Linked DNA regions of Homo sapiens: region 2 is linked to region 1. The links are contacts of gene promoters, found by promoter capture Hi-C in human tissues and cell types (Jung and others, 2019). All regions are on one chromosome and are shown on one strand. Each heading gives the region's core, a stretch centred on a gene start or on the middle of the fragment in contact. The rest is flanking DNA. Distances are from core to core; before and after follow the strand shown. Region 1 holds the start of WDR88 (WD repeat domain 88). Region 2 overlaps RHPN2 (rhophilin Rho GTPase binding protein 2).

Region 1 (5,581 bases), core at 1,141-3,640:
GAAATTAAATTGGCTGGGTGCAGTGGCTCACGCATGCAATTCCAGTGCTTTGGGAGGCCCAGGAGTGAGGATTGCTTGAGGCCAGGAGTTTAAGACCAGCCTGGGCAACATGGCGAGACTCCCCCTCTCTACAAAAAAAATCAAAATTAAAATTAATAATTTAAAAAATATATAATTTAATTTAAAAAATAGGAAAACAAAAAACCTAGAACTCCATCATGGAAAAACATTAGCAAGAGGGGGGAACCATTCCGCTACCCCCACCACAGGCTTTTCTGGGGCTCTCGTTTCAGGTTTTTTTCTGCACACAGTCCCTTGGGATCCACTAGGTAAAGGGGTCCCAGGGGCTGCAGAGAGAAGTCCCCAACACATGAGTACATTTCAGAGGTGCTGACAAAGCTCATGCAGAGGACAGAGCAAAAACAAAACGGTTCTTCTATGCGTAGCGTTCATTCACATATTCCACAAATAAACCTCAAGAGCCTCCTCCCCCATGGGGCCTGGACCTGATGCTGCAGCTCAGCAGCCACCTAGGAGCAAAGTCCCTAACCTCGAGGGGCCAGTTGCTGGCAGCCAGAGGACACCTTGAGGACGGAACGGGGATGTCAGACCATGGCATGAGGCACGGAGGAGACAGTGGCCCTGGCTACTTTAGACGGGCGGTCAGGGAGGGCCTCCCCAAGAGCGCAATACCGTGGGGGCAGGGAACCGCCAAGATCCCTGAGGCCAGACCTGCTTGTAGGTCAGCAAGACAGGGGGATGGGGGAGGAGAACATGGAGAGGTGCCAGATTTGAAATGGCCTGGAAGGCCACAGGCAGATCGCCAGACTTCATCTTAAACATGCTGGGAAGCCAGGCAGAGGTTTCGAGGAAATTATTAAAAACACACTCTGACATCTGCATGTGAGTGCAATAAATCAAGGCCAAGCATGAAACGCTACTTATTGAGAATGTTCTTTATTGGGTTTTTGTTTTGTTTTGTTTTTGAGATGGAGTGAGATGATCTCAGCTCACTGCAACCTCTGCCTCCCGGGTTCAAATGATCTTGCTGCCTCAGCCTCCTGAGTAGCTGGGATTACAGGCACGCACCACCATGCCTGGCTAATTTTTGCATTTTTAGTAGAGAAAGGGTTTCACCATGTTAGCCAGGCTGGTCTCGAACCCTTGACCTCAAGTGATCTGCTCATCTCGGCTTCCCAAAGTGCTGGGATTACAGACATGAGCCACTGCACCCAGCCAGTTTTTCTTTCTTTCTCCTTCTTTCTTTCTTTTTCTTTTTCTTTCTTTCTTTCTCTCTCTCTCTCTATATTTATTTATTTATTTATTTATTTATTTATTTATTTATTCTGGAGACAGTCTCGCTCTGTTGCCCAGGCTGGAGTGCAGTGGCACAATCATAGCTCACTGCAGCCTTAAACTCCTGGGTTCAAGGGATCCTCTTGCCTCAGCCTTTCAAGTGGCTGGGACCACAGGTGCGCCCCATCACACTGGGCTAAGTTTATTTCTTGTAGAGACGACCTCTCACTATGTTGCCCAGGCTGGTCTCAAACTCCTGGGCTCAAGTGATCCTCCCACCTGGGCCTCCCAAAGGGCTGGGATTACAGGTGTGAGCCACCTTGCCTGGCCCAATTCATTGTTGTTATTATTATTCTGAGTTTCCCGTTTCTTCTGACGCTAACTGTATCTCCTGGACGGGGAGAGCTGAGCCACCGACCCTTGGGCTGCAATTAGGAGCATCACTGTGGGTGGGCCTACCTACGGAGACTCCAAGGTCTAGATGGGGTCACATGGTGGGGCAGAGCCTCCTCCCAGCGAAGAGTCCTGGTTCCCCAGCAGGTGGCAGTGCGGGGAGCCCCCGCCGGCATCCCCAGCACGCCCTGCTCAGGTGGGTCTGACCTTTGCCCACAGATGTACCACAGATGGGGAAATGGGCCTAGGGCCTCGCTGGGGGTCCTGGTGAAGCCAGGTGGGTTTTCCATGGGTCCCCCGACAGCTCGAGCGCCTTCCTCCCGTGTGGGGAACAGGCCAGTGCCCCCTCACCCCAGCGGCGGTTCTGACCTTGGAGAGAGGGTCCTGGTCGCCCCAGATCAATTTCTCCGGCACCTGGTGCTTCTCAGGCAACAGATGCGGTGGTGGTTCCCTGTCCAAGGCCAGGGGGTCGAGGGTGGCCAGCAGGTGCGTGTGCGGGATCGACAGCTTGAAGCGGCCTAAGGCCCTCGCCATGGTCCCCCAGGACAGCTTGCCGGGACAATACTCGCTGGCGGGGGCGGAGGGTGGCGGCAACTTGCATTCCCTGTCATGGGCTGTCGGGGAGCACCGCGGCGGGGAGGCCATCTCGAAGCCCGGTCCGCCGGTGGCCGCCGACAAGCCTGGATGGGAACGGTGGCGCCGCGCGCCCGCGCCCGCGCCCGCACCAAGCCCTTCGGAGGCGCGCGCTACGCTGGGCCCGCGACTTCGCTGCCTCCTCGCCCGCTGGGTGAAAACTAGTGCCACCCCGCGCAGCACAGGTTACCTATAGAAAAATGGGCTTTGCAGCCGGGCGCGGTGGCTCACGCCTGTAATCCCGGCACTTTGGGAGGCCGAGGCGGGCGGATTACCTGAGGTCAGGAGTTGGAGACCAGCCTGGCCAACAGGTTTAGTGAAACCCCATCTTTACTTAAAAAAAATAATAACAAAAATTAGCCAGGCATGGGGGCGTGCGCCTGTAGTTCCAGCTACATGGGAGGCTGAGGCAGGGGAATGGCTTGAACCCAGGAGGTGGAGGTTGCAAAAAAAAGAAAAATGGGCTTTGCATTCTGGGAACCAGGCCGAGCCAGCAAAACCAGCACCCCAGCCTCCAGCCCTCCGCTGTGGTTTCCCTGGCTCCTGTCACAGGGCAATTTCTTCATGTCCTCTGCCTGGGTACAGCTCCTGGCCAACCCACTTCATGACAAAACAGAAAAGGTCAGTAAGTTATGGGGTAGCCCCTGCATGAAATAAGATGCAGTTATTAGGGGTGGGTTTACAACATTTATAATAGATGAGGGAAATATCTGTCACAACCCCAACAACAGTGACAGGGAATAAAATGCTACCACCAGTCAGATAACAGCCCCATAGCTAGAAAAGGACAGGGTGGAATTATTCAAAATATTGAAGAAGGGTGTCATCTTTGGATGATAAAACTAAAAGTGATTTTCTTCCTTCTTTTTTTTTTTTTTTTTTTTTGGTGGAGACAAGAGTCTGTCACCCAGGCTGGATTGCAGTAGCGCAATTTCGGCTCACTGCAACCTCCACCTCCAGGGTTCAAAGGATTCTCGTGCCTCAGCCTCCCACACAGCTGGGATTACAGGTGTATGCTCACCAGACCTGGCTAATTTTTTTGTATTTTTAGTAGAGACAAGGTTTCGCCATGTTGGCCAGGCTGTTTTTGAACTCCTGGCCTCAAGTGATCCGCTGGCCTCGGCCTCCCAAAGTGCTGGGATTACAAGCATGGGCCACCGCACCCGGCCTCTTCCTTCTTTCTGCTTTTAAAATTGTTGTGATCTATGATGCTACTTTCATAATGTAAAATACAAATGCTCAATACTTTATTTTTTGTGGAGACAGGGGTCTCTATGTGGCCCAGGCTGGTCTGGAATTCCTGGGCTCAAGCAATCCTCCCGCCTCGGCCTCCCAAAGCTCTGGGATTACAGGCATTAGCCATCACACCTGGTCTGCACTTTATTTTTCAAAAAGGTCTCCTTGGTACACATGAGGTGGCCTCAGAGCAGGGAGCTGCAGCCGTGTAACCCAGGCTGTGGGTGCACATTCTCCTGCCTGGTTTCCCTGCCTGTCTCAGACACTTTAGTGACATCTACCCTGAGAGGCTGAGGCCCCCTGCCAGGCCCTGGCTCTGCCCTCCCATGGGGCTTCCTGGGCACCAACAGTAACCCAGCCACCCAGAGAGGGAAGAGCTTCACTCCCAAAAAACGGCAGGAGGGGCCGCAACCGCCCCTTCTCACACGCTTGTCCTTCAGTGAGTCCAGGCTGTCTTCATCACAAAACCAGAGAGAAGCCTTCACTTTTAACTTCTTTTTTAACGTCCCAGGAAATTTTTTAAAAATCAAGAAGAAAATAGAAAAATTCCACTTTAATTAAACTGTTCAGTCTGGATTTTTTTCCCCCGATACTAACTGAAATTAAAAATAGAAATCAATTTCTGCGACCTTTCAAGGCAGTCTTTGAAATGTCAAGGTTTTAAAAATTATTTTACAGCAGGAATTTACATATAAATACACTCTGTACAATGCGTTAACTGAACAATCACTGGGCTTCCATCATGGAGGAGAAATGATTCTAGGACGAGCCAGGGCAGCATTCAATTACTGCCTTCTTAGTGGAAGACTTTTCAGCCTGGAAAAGAAAACAGAAAAGAGAGAAATGGAAAGTTAGCTAAAGTGAAAAACCAAACAGCTCCGTGGAGGCTGAGAATGCCAGGCCTCCCCATATCACAGCAGCATGTCTGCACCTACAAAATGCACTCACAATAACCCACAATGAAGTACTGCCTAATCTGTGCTTTTTTTTTTTTTTCCCCCGAGATGGAGTCTCACTTTTGTCGCCCAGGCTGGAGCGCAGTGGTGCGATCTCAGCTCACTGCAACCTCCGCCTCCCAGGTTTAAGCAAGTCTCCTGCCTCAGCCTCCAGAGTAGCTGGGATTACAGGCACATGCCACCATACCCAGCTAATTTTTGTATTTTTAGTACAGATGGGGTTTCACCATGTTGGCCAGGCTTGTTTCGAACTCCTGACTGTGATCTGCCCGCCTCGGCCTCCCAAAGTGCTGGGATTACAGGCATGAGCCACCGTACCCGGCCAATCTGTGTTCTTAAAATGCTTCTTCTATTACCCTGAAAACACACAGAGACTCACTCACCCACACCTCGTATTAAGACCACTTATAAAAGCAACTTTTTTCCCTAGTCTTATTTAGCCTTGAGAATACAAGCAATTTTTAATCTCAGTTTCACTCACCTACCGCATCCGTTGCATGACCCTTGGGAAGGAACTAAAATACATTCACTCCAGGGCCCAAAGCATCCAAGTTGTCTTTTTTTTTTTTTTAATTTTTTTATAGAGACAGGGTCTCCCTATATTACCCGAGCTGGTCTTGAACTCCTGGGCTCAAGCGATCCTCCCATCTTGACCTCCCAAGGTATTGGGATTACAGGCATGAGCCACCATGCCCAGCCCCCAAGTTGTCAGTCTTAAATCTGAATTTCTTTTCTTTTTTTTTTTTTGAGACAGAGTCTCTGTCACCCAGGCTGGAGTACAGTGGCGCGATCTCGGTTCACTGCAACCTCCACCTCCCAGGTTCAAGCGATTCTCCTGCCTCCACCTCCTGAGTAGCTGGGACTACAGGCACGTGCCACCACGCCTGGCTAGTTTTTTTAGTAGAGATGGGGTTTGGGGTTTCATTGTGTTAACCAGGATAGTCTCGATTTCCTGACCTCATGATCCGCCTGCCTCGGCCTCCCAGAGTGCTGGGATTACAGACGTGAGATACCGCACCTGGCCTAAATCTGAATTTCATACATATAGGAATGTTCGTGGCAGTTCT
Region 2 (5,581 bases), core at 2,048-4,547, 85 kb after region 1:
CACAAATTAGCCGGGTGTGGTGGCGGGTGCCTGCAATTCTAGCTACTCAGGAGGCTGAGGCAGGAGAATCGCTTGAGCCCGGGAGGTGGAGTTTGCAGTGAGCCGAGTTCACGCCACTGTGCTCCAGCCCGGGCAACAAGAGCGAAACTCTGTCTAAAAAAACAAAAAAAGGAACAAACTACTGGTAAATGAAACAGCATGGGTGAATCTGAAAACATGGTATTGAGCAAAATAAACCAGACATAAAAGTCTACATCCTATCTGATTACATTTACATAGTTCAAAAGCAGACAAAAATATGTGGTGATAGAAATCAGAGTATTGGTTGCCTGGGGATGATGGAAATGTTCTGTGTTCTGTATTTTGATAGGAGTGATGGTTACGCAGGTTTATATGTTTGTTCAAACTCATTGAACTATATACTTAAAATATGTGTATTTTATTATATATAAATTGTATCTCAATTCAGAAAATTGAGATACAAAGAAGGGAATGAATTGGTTGCTGTAAATGAAAAGTACAGAGGGATGGCTTCAGGCCTAGCTTGATCCAGGGCTCAGATGACATCGCCAAATCTGTTTCTCAGCTCAGCCCACCTGGGGTTGGTTCCCTGTCTAGGGAGACACTCTTCTGCTGGTGGTAAGGTGGCTGCAACTGCTCAGTGTCACAGCCTCCCAGGTTCAAGGCCAATGAGGACCTCTTCCTGATGGGTTTCGATTGACCCTGATCTTCAGGCTTTGGTTTTCCAATGGGCCAGGCAGAAGTCAGATGTTCTTCCCTTTGGAAAGGATGTTGGGGGAGCATGGATTTACACACACACCCCTGCCCCCCACCAGGCCATCATGGGCTATGAGGCGGGAGAGTGGGCTGGCATCACTGTTCCCCCAAAAGATGTGGGGTGATGGTGGGCAGCCATCACCCATGAAGGGGTGTCTGGGGGTTGCATGCATTCCTACCGCTCACACCGCCTCACCGCTCATCCTGGAGCAGCAGGAAGGACAGGGTCTTAAATCCCACCCCAACTTTTACTGCCTGCCTCTAGGATCTCAAGTTGCTCATATAGCCTCCTTGCTGCAGAACCATGGGATCCGAGATGCTGTACCAGGGTCCACATAAGCGGGCCGACCCCAGGAGTTGCCTGTAAAGCTGGTGATGACACGGGGGTTCACTCAGTACTTGCTTTTCTTGGGTGTTGGCTGTTTGCCCACTCTTCAAGTTTCGGGACTGACGGAAATGTCCGAACCTTAGTGTGGGAAGGGAATAGACTCTGTGGAGGAGAAAGTCTCACTTCACTGTAGAACTTGTCAACAGCAGATCCCGAGGTCAGGACAGCTCAGTTGGCCCCACAGGTGTGAGAGGTTTAGCCCCAGTCCCTGGTGCAAACCCTCACTCCAGTCTCAGAGCGGCTTTGTGTTCTGTTGAGAACCAATCCCTGTCTCTGAGTTGCAGAGGCTATTCTGGAAGCTGTTTGTTCAGGGCTAAGGTCTCGTTATTACACAAGATAGGGGGTGGGGTGAGAAATGTATGGGTGGGGATGGTGGACCCGCCACCTTGTCCCCTACAGAGCAGCCCCTGGCAGGGGCTAGTAGATGGCCAATAGTTTCTGGTGATGCCAGGGAGTCTTTCTGACAGTCTTGTCCAGATTTACCTCTCAGGGAAGTTTCCACACACAGCCCCGTGGGTGTTTCTTGTGTTCCCCAGCAAAGCCCAACATTCCTACCTGTCAGGAATAAGTAATGTGGTTTCGGGCCCAATTACTCAGTCAAATCTAACCCTAAGTGTTCCTATGCCTTATCTAGAAACCTGACCACATATCTATGGGCTGGTTAGGGCGTACTGATTCCAGGCCAGCAGAAGTTGGGGAAAGTATACGAACAGAAAAAAAAACATTCTTATCCGTAGTTTGGAATGGCTGCTTATCTGAGCTCTGGGAATGTACGTAAAGGAATTAGTTATTCAAGCTTCCCTGTAAAATGAAACACAGCAGTGGTGATCCAGGTAATTCAGAGTCAAACTGAATCGTCGTCATTTTTGGAAGTGGAAAGGAAAGAGATGAACAGTTATTTTAGTTATTTAATATTTAATTATAATAGCTTAACATTAAAGTTTTTTTTTTTTTTTTTTTTGAGACTGAGTCTCGCTGTGTCACCCAGGCTGGAGTGCAGTGGTGTTATCTTGGCTCACTGCAACCTCTGCCTCCCGGGTTCAAGTGATTCTCCTGCCTCAGCCTCCAGAGTAGCTGGGATTATAGGCGCATGCCACTACGCCCAGCTAATTTTTATATTTTTAGTAGAGACAGGGTTTCACCATGTTGGCCAGGCTGTTCTCGAACTCCTGTCCTCAGGTGATCTACCCGCCTCAGCCTCCCAAAGTGCTGGGATTACAGGCGTGAACTACTATGCCCGGCCAAAGATATTTTAATCTTAAATCTGAAGAAAGACAAAATTGGAAACCGTTTAATGCTTTAAACGATATTAATTTTAAAATCCATTCCAGGGCTGGATGCCATGGCTCATGCCTGTAATCCCAGCACTTTGGGAGGCCGAGGCGGGTGGATCACCTGAGGTCAGGAGTTCGAGACCAGCCTGGCCAACACGGTGAAACCCCATCTCTACTAAAAATAGAAAGATTAGCTGGGTGTGGTGGTGGGTGCCTGTAATTCCAGCTACTCAGCAGGCTGAGGCAGGATAATCACTTGAACCCAGGAGGCAGAGGCTGTACTGAGCTGAGATCGTACCACTGCACTCCAGCCTGTCTACAGAAGCCAACTCGAATTCCGAATATCTGTGCAATTTGAACTTGGGGGAAAGTGTCCTTGCGAGACAGGGAAAATTAGGTTGTGGGGCTATGTGGGGGATGGGTGGTGGTGACCTGATGGGAAATGAGAATGAGAAGTCTTTTATTTTTATTATTATTTAAAAATTTTTATTATTATTTGTAGAGACAGAGTCTCACTCTGTTATCCAGGCTGGAGTGCAGTGGCGCAATTGTAGCTCACCGCAGCCTCAAACTCCTGGCCTCAAGCGATCCTCTGGCCTCAGCCTCTCAAAGTGCTTGGGATTACAGTTGTGAGCTACCATGACCATTCTGGCCAAGAATGAGAAATCTCTGTGGAAGGAGAATACTGGGATTCCTGAGGAGGTTTCCGCTATAGATAACTCACATCTCCCTCCCTGGGGTCCAGGCCATGGGTGTGGCTTGGGCAGAGGTCGGAGAGGCCAGGTGTGTGCAGGCCTGAGATGTGACTCAGGGAGAGAGAAAGGGCAGTCTCTTCACCACGTAATACTACCCGCCAGACCGCTCCCAGGGAGTAACCGCAGTGGGCAGGACCTAGAGATAAGCGGCAAAGAGGAATGTGGGCGTATCCCAGGTCCTGAGGCTTCTACCTGTCTGGGGTGGGAAGAACACCATTCAGCTAAAATGCAGCTTTTATTCTGATCTTAAACTTTTAGCGTGAAGCGTTGTAATCCAAATACCCCAGGGCACAATGGTCAGAGAACACAGACAATTTGTTGAAAAAGAAATTAAAGTGTCAAGATTATATGGAAAAACCTTTACCTTCACTGTTATAATAAACATACAAATTAGAAGAATGAGCTATCTATTTTTGCATGTCAACTTGACAGAAATTAAAAATAATTTTCAACCAGACAGATAAAAAGACAATCCAGTTTAAAACTGGGCAAAGGAGAGCTGGGTGTGGTGGCTCACACCTGTAAGACTAGCACTTTGGGAGGCCAAGATGGGCAGATCACTTGAGGTCAGGAATTCAAGACCAGCCTGGCAAAAAAATGGTGAAACCTTGTCTCTACCAAAAAATGGAACAATTAGCCGGACGTGGTGGCATGCACCTGTAGTCCCAGCTGCTCAGGAGGCTGAGGCAGGAGAATCACTTGAACCCAGGAGGTGAAGGTTGCAGTGAGCCAAGATCATACCACTGCAGCAGTCCAGTCTGGGTGACAGACTGAGACCCTGTTTCAAAAAAAAAAAATGGGCAAAGGATCTGAATTGATATTTCTTCGAAGAAGATATACAGTTGGCCAATAAGTTCATGAAAAGATATTCAACATCATTAACTGTCAGGGAGACACAATTCAAAACCACGATGTGAGACAGCACACACATAAGGTAGCTGTAATAAAAAAGATAGACCAGCACCTGTATTGGTGAGATGTAGATGAATTGGAACTCTCATCCTGTTAGTTGGGTTGTAAAATTGTATAACCACTTTGAAGAGCCTGATAGTTCCTCAAATCATTAAACATAGAATAAATCATATGATCTAGACCGGGCTCAGTGGCTCACGCCTGTAATCCCAGCATATTGGGAAGCCAAGCCAAGCGGATCACTTGAGGTCAGGAGTTTGAGATCACCCTGGCCAACATCATGAAACCCGCCTCTCTACTAAAAATACAAAAATTATCTGGTCATGGTGGTGCACGCCTGTAATCCCAGCTACCCGGGAGGCTGAAGCAGGAGAATCGTTCGAACCTGGGAGACAGAGGTTGCAATGAGCCGAGATCGAGCCACTGCACTCAAGCCTGGACGACAGAACAAGCCTCTGTCTCAAAAAAACAGAATCAAAAATAAAAACAAAACAAAAAAACCACCTGATCTAGACATTTTATTTCTATATTTATAGCCAAGAGAAACAAAAGCACATATCCATATAAAACCTTGTACGCACATAAACAGCCTTATTCGTAATAGTCAAAAAGTGAAAACACTCCCCATGCCCATTGTATGATGAATGATGAATGGATAAAGTACACAAGTGTGGTGTATCTATGTAATGAAATCTTATTCAGGGACAAAAACGGACAAAGTTCTGATACATGCTACAACCTGGATAAACCTTGAGAACATCATGGCAAATGAAAGAAGCCAGATGCAAAGGCCACATATTATATGATTCCGTTTATATGAAATAATCTTGAATAAGCAAACCTGTAAAGACAGAAAGTAGATTGGTGGTTGCCTAGGGCTGGGGTTAAGGGGAAAAGGAAATGAGGAGCGATGCTAATGGCTACTTGCTTTTTTTTTAGGCTGATGAAAATGTTCTAAAATCAGATAGTGGTTGATGGGCGTGGTGGCTCGCGCCTGTAATCCCAGCACTTTGGGGGGCTGAGGTAGGCAGATCACTTGAGGTTAGGAGTTCAGGACCAGCCTGGCCAACATGGCGAAACCCTGTCTCTACTAAAAATACAAAAATTAGCCAGGCGTGGTGGTGGGCACCTGTAATTCCAGCTACTCGGGAGGCTGAGGCAGGAGAATCACTTGAACCTGGGAGGCAGAGGTTGCAGTGAGCCGAGATTGTGCCACTGCACTGCAGCCTGGATGACACAGCAAGACTCCATCTAAAAAAAAAAAATCAGATAGCACTGATGGTTCTGTAACTCCTGAATATACTAAAAACCAATGAATTGTTTATTTTAAAAGGGCAAAACGTATGGTATATGGATTATATCTCCATAAAGCTGTTACTAAATAAAAAAAGTAGGCCAGGCGCAGTGGCTCACACCTGCCATCCCAGCCCTTTGGGGAGGCCAAGGCAGGTGGATCACTTGAAGTCAAGAGTTCA

What was found. The method cuts DNA at HindIII sites, captures the fragments that hold promoters and counts their contacts. A contact is called where the count stands out against the background at its distance.
Region 2: a fragment that was not itself captured here is called in contact with the fragment with the promoter of WDR88 in region 1 in 2 of the 25 tissues and cell types used here (H1 embryonic stem cells and mesendoderm cells).

The regions. Positions count from the first base shown.
Region 1 is chr19:33,128,923-33,134,503 of GRCh38, reverse strand. WDR88 (WD repeat domain 88) reads right to left here and starts at 2,390. Exons shown (of 11, transcript NM_173479.4): 1 at 2,059-2,390. The coding sequence starts at 2,334. It overlaps GPATCH1 (G-patch domain containing 1), which reads right to left. Exons shown (of 20, transcript NM_018025.3): 20 at 3,962-4,374. The coding sequence ends at 4,344. RefSeq lists an enhancer at 2,384-2,553 and a silencer at 5,311-5,455. The HindIII fragment of the contact is 34,056 bases long and covers 1-5,581 here.
Region 2 is chr19:33,045,271-33,050,851 of GRCh38, reverse strand. The region is part of intron 1 of RHPN2 (rhophilin Rho GTPase binding protein 2); the gene reads left to right. Among named protein-coding and RNA genes, the nearest start is that of RHPN2, 17 kb to the left of the region's middle. RefSeq lists an enhancer at 1,854-2,572. The HindIII fragment of the contact is 8,752 bases long and covers 1-5,581 here.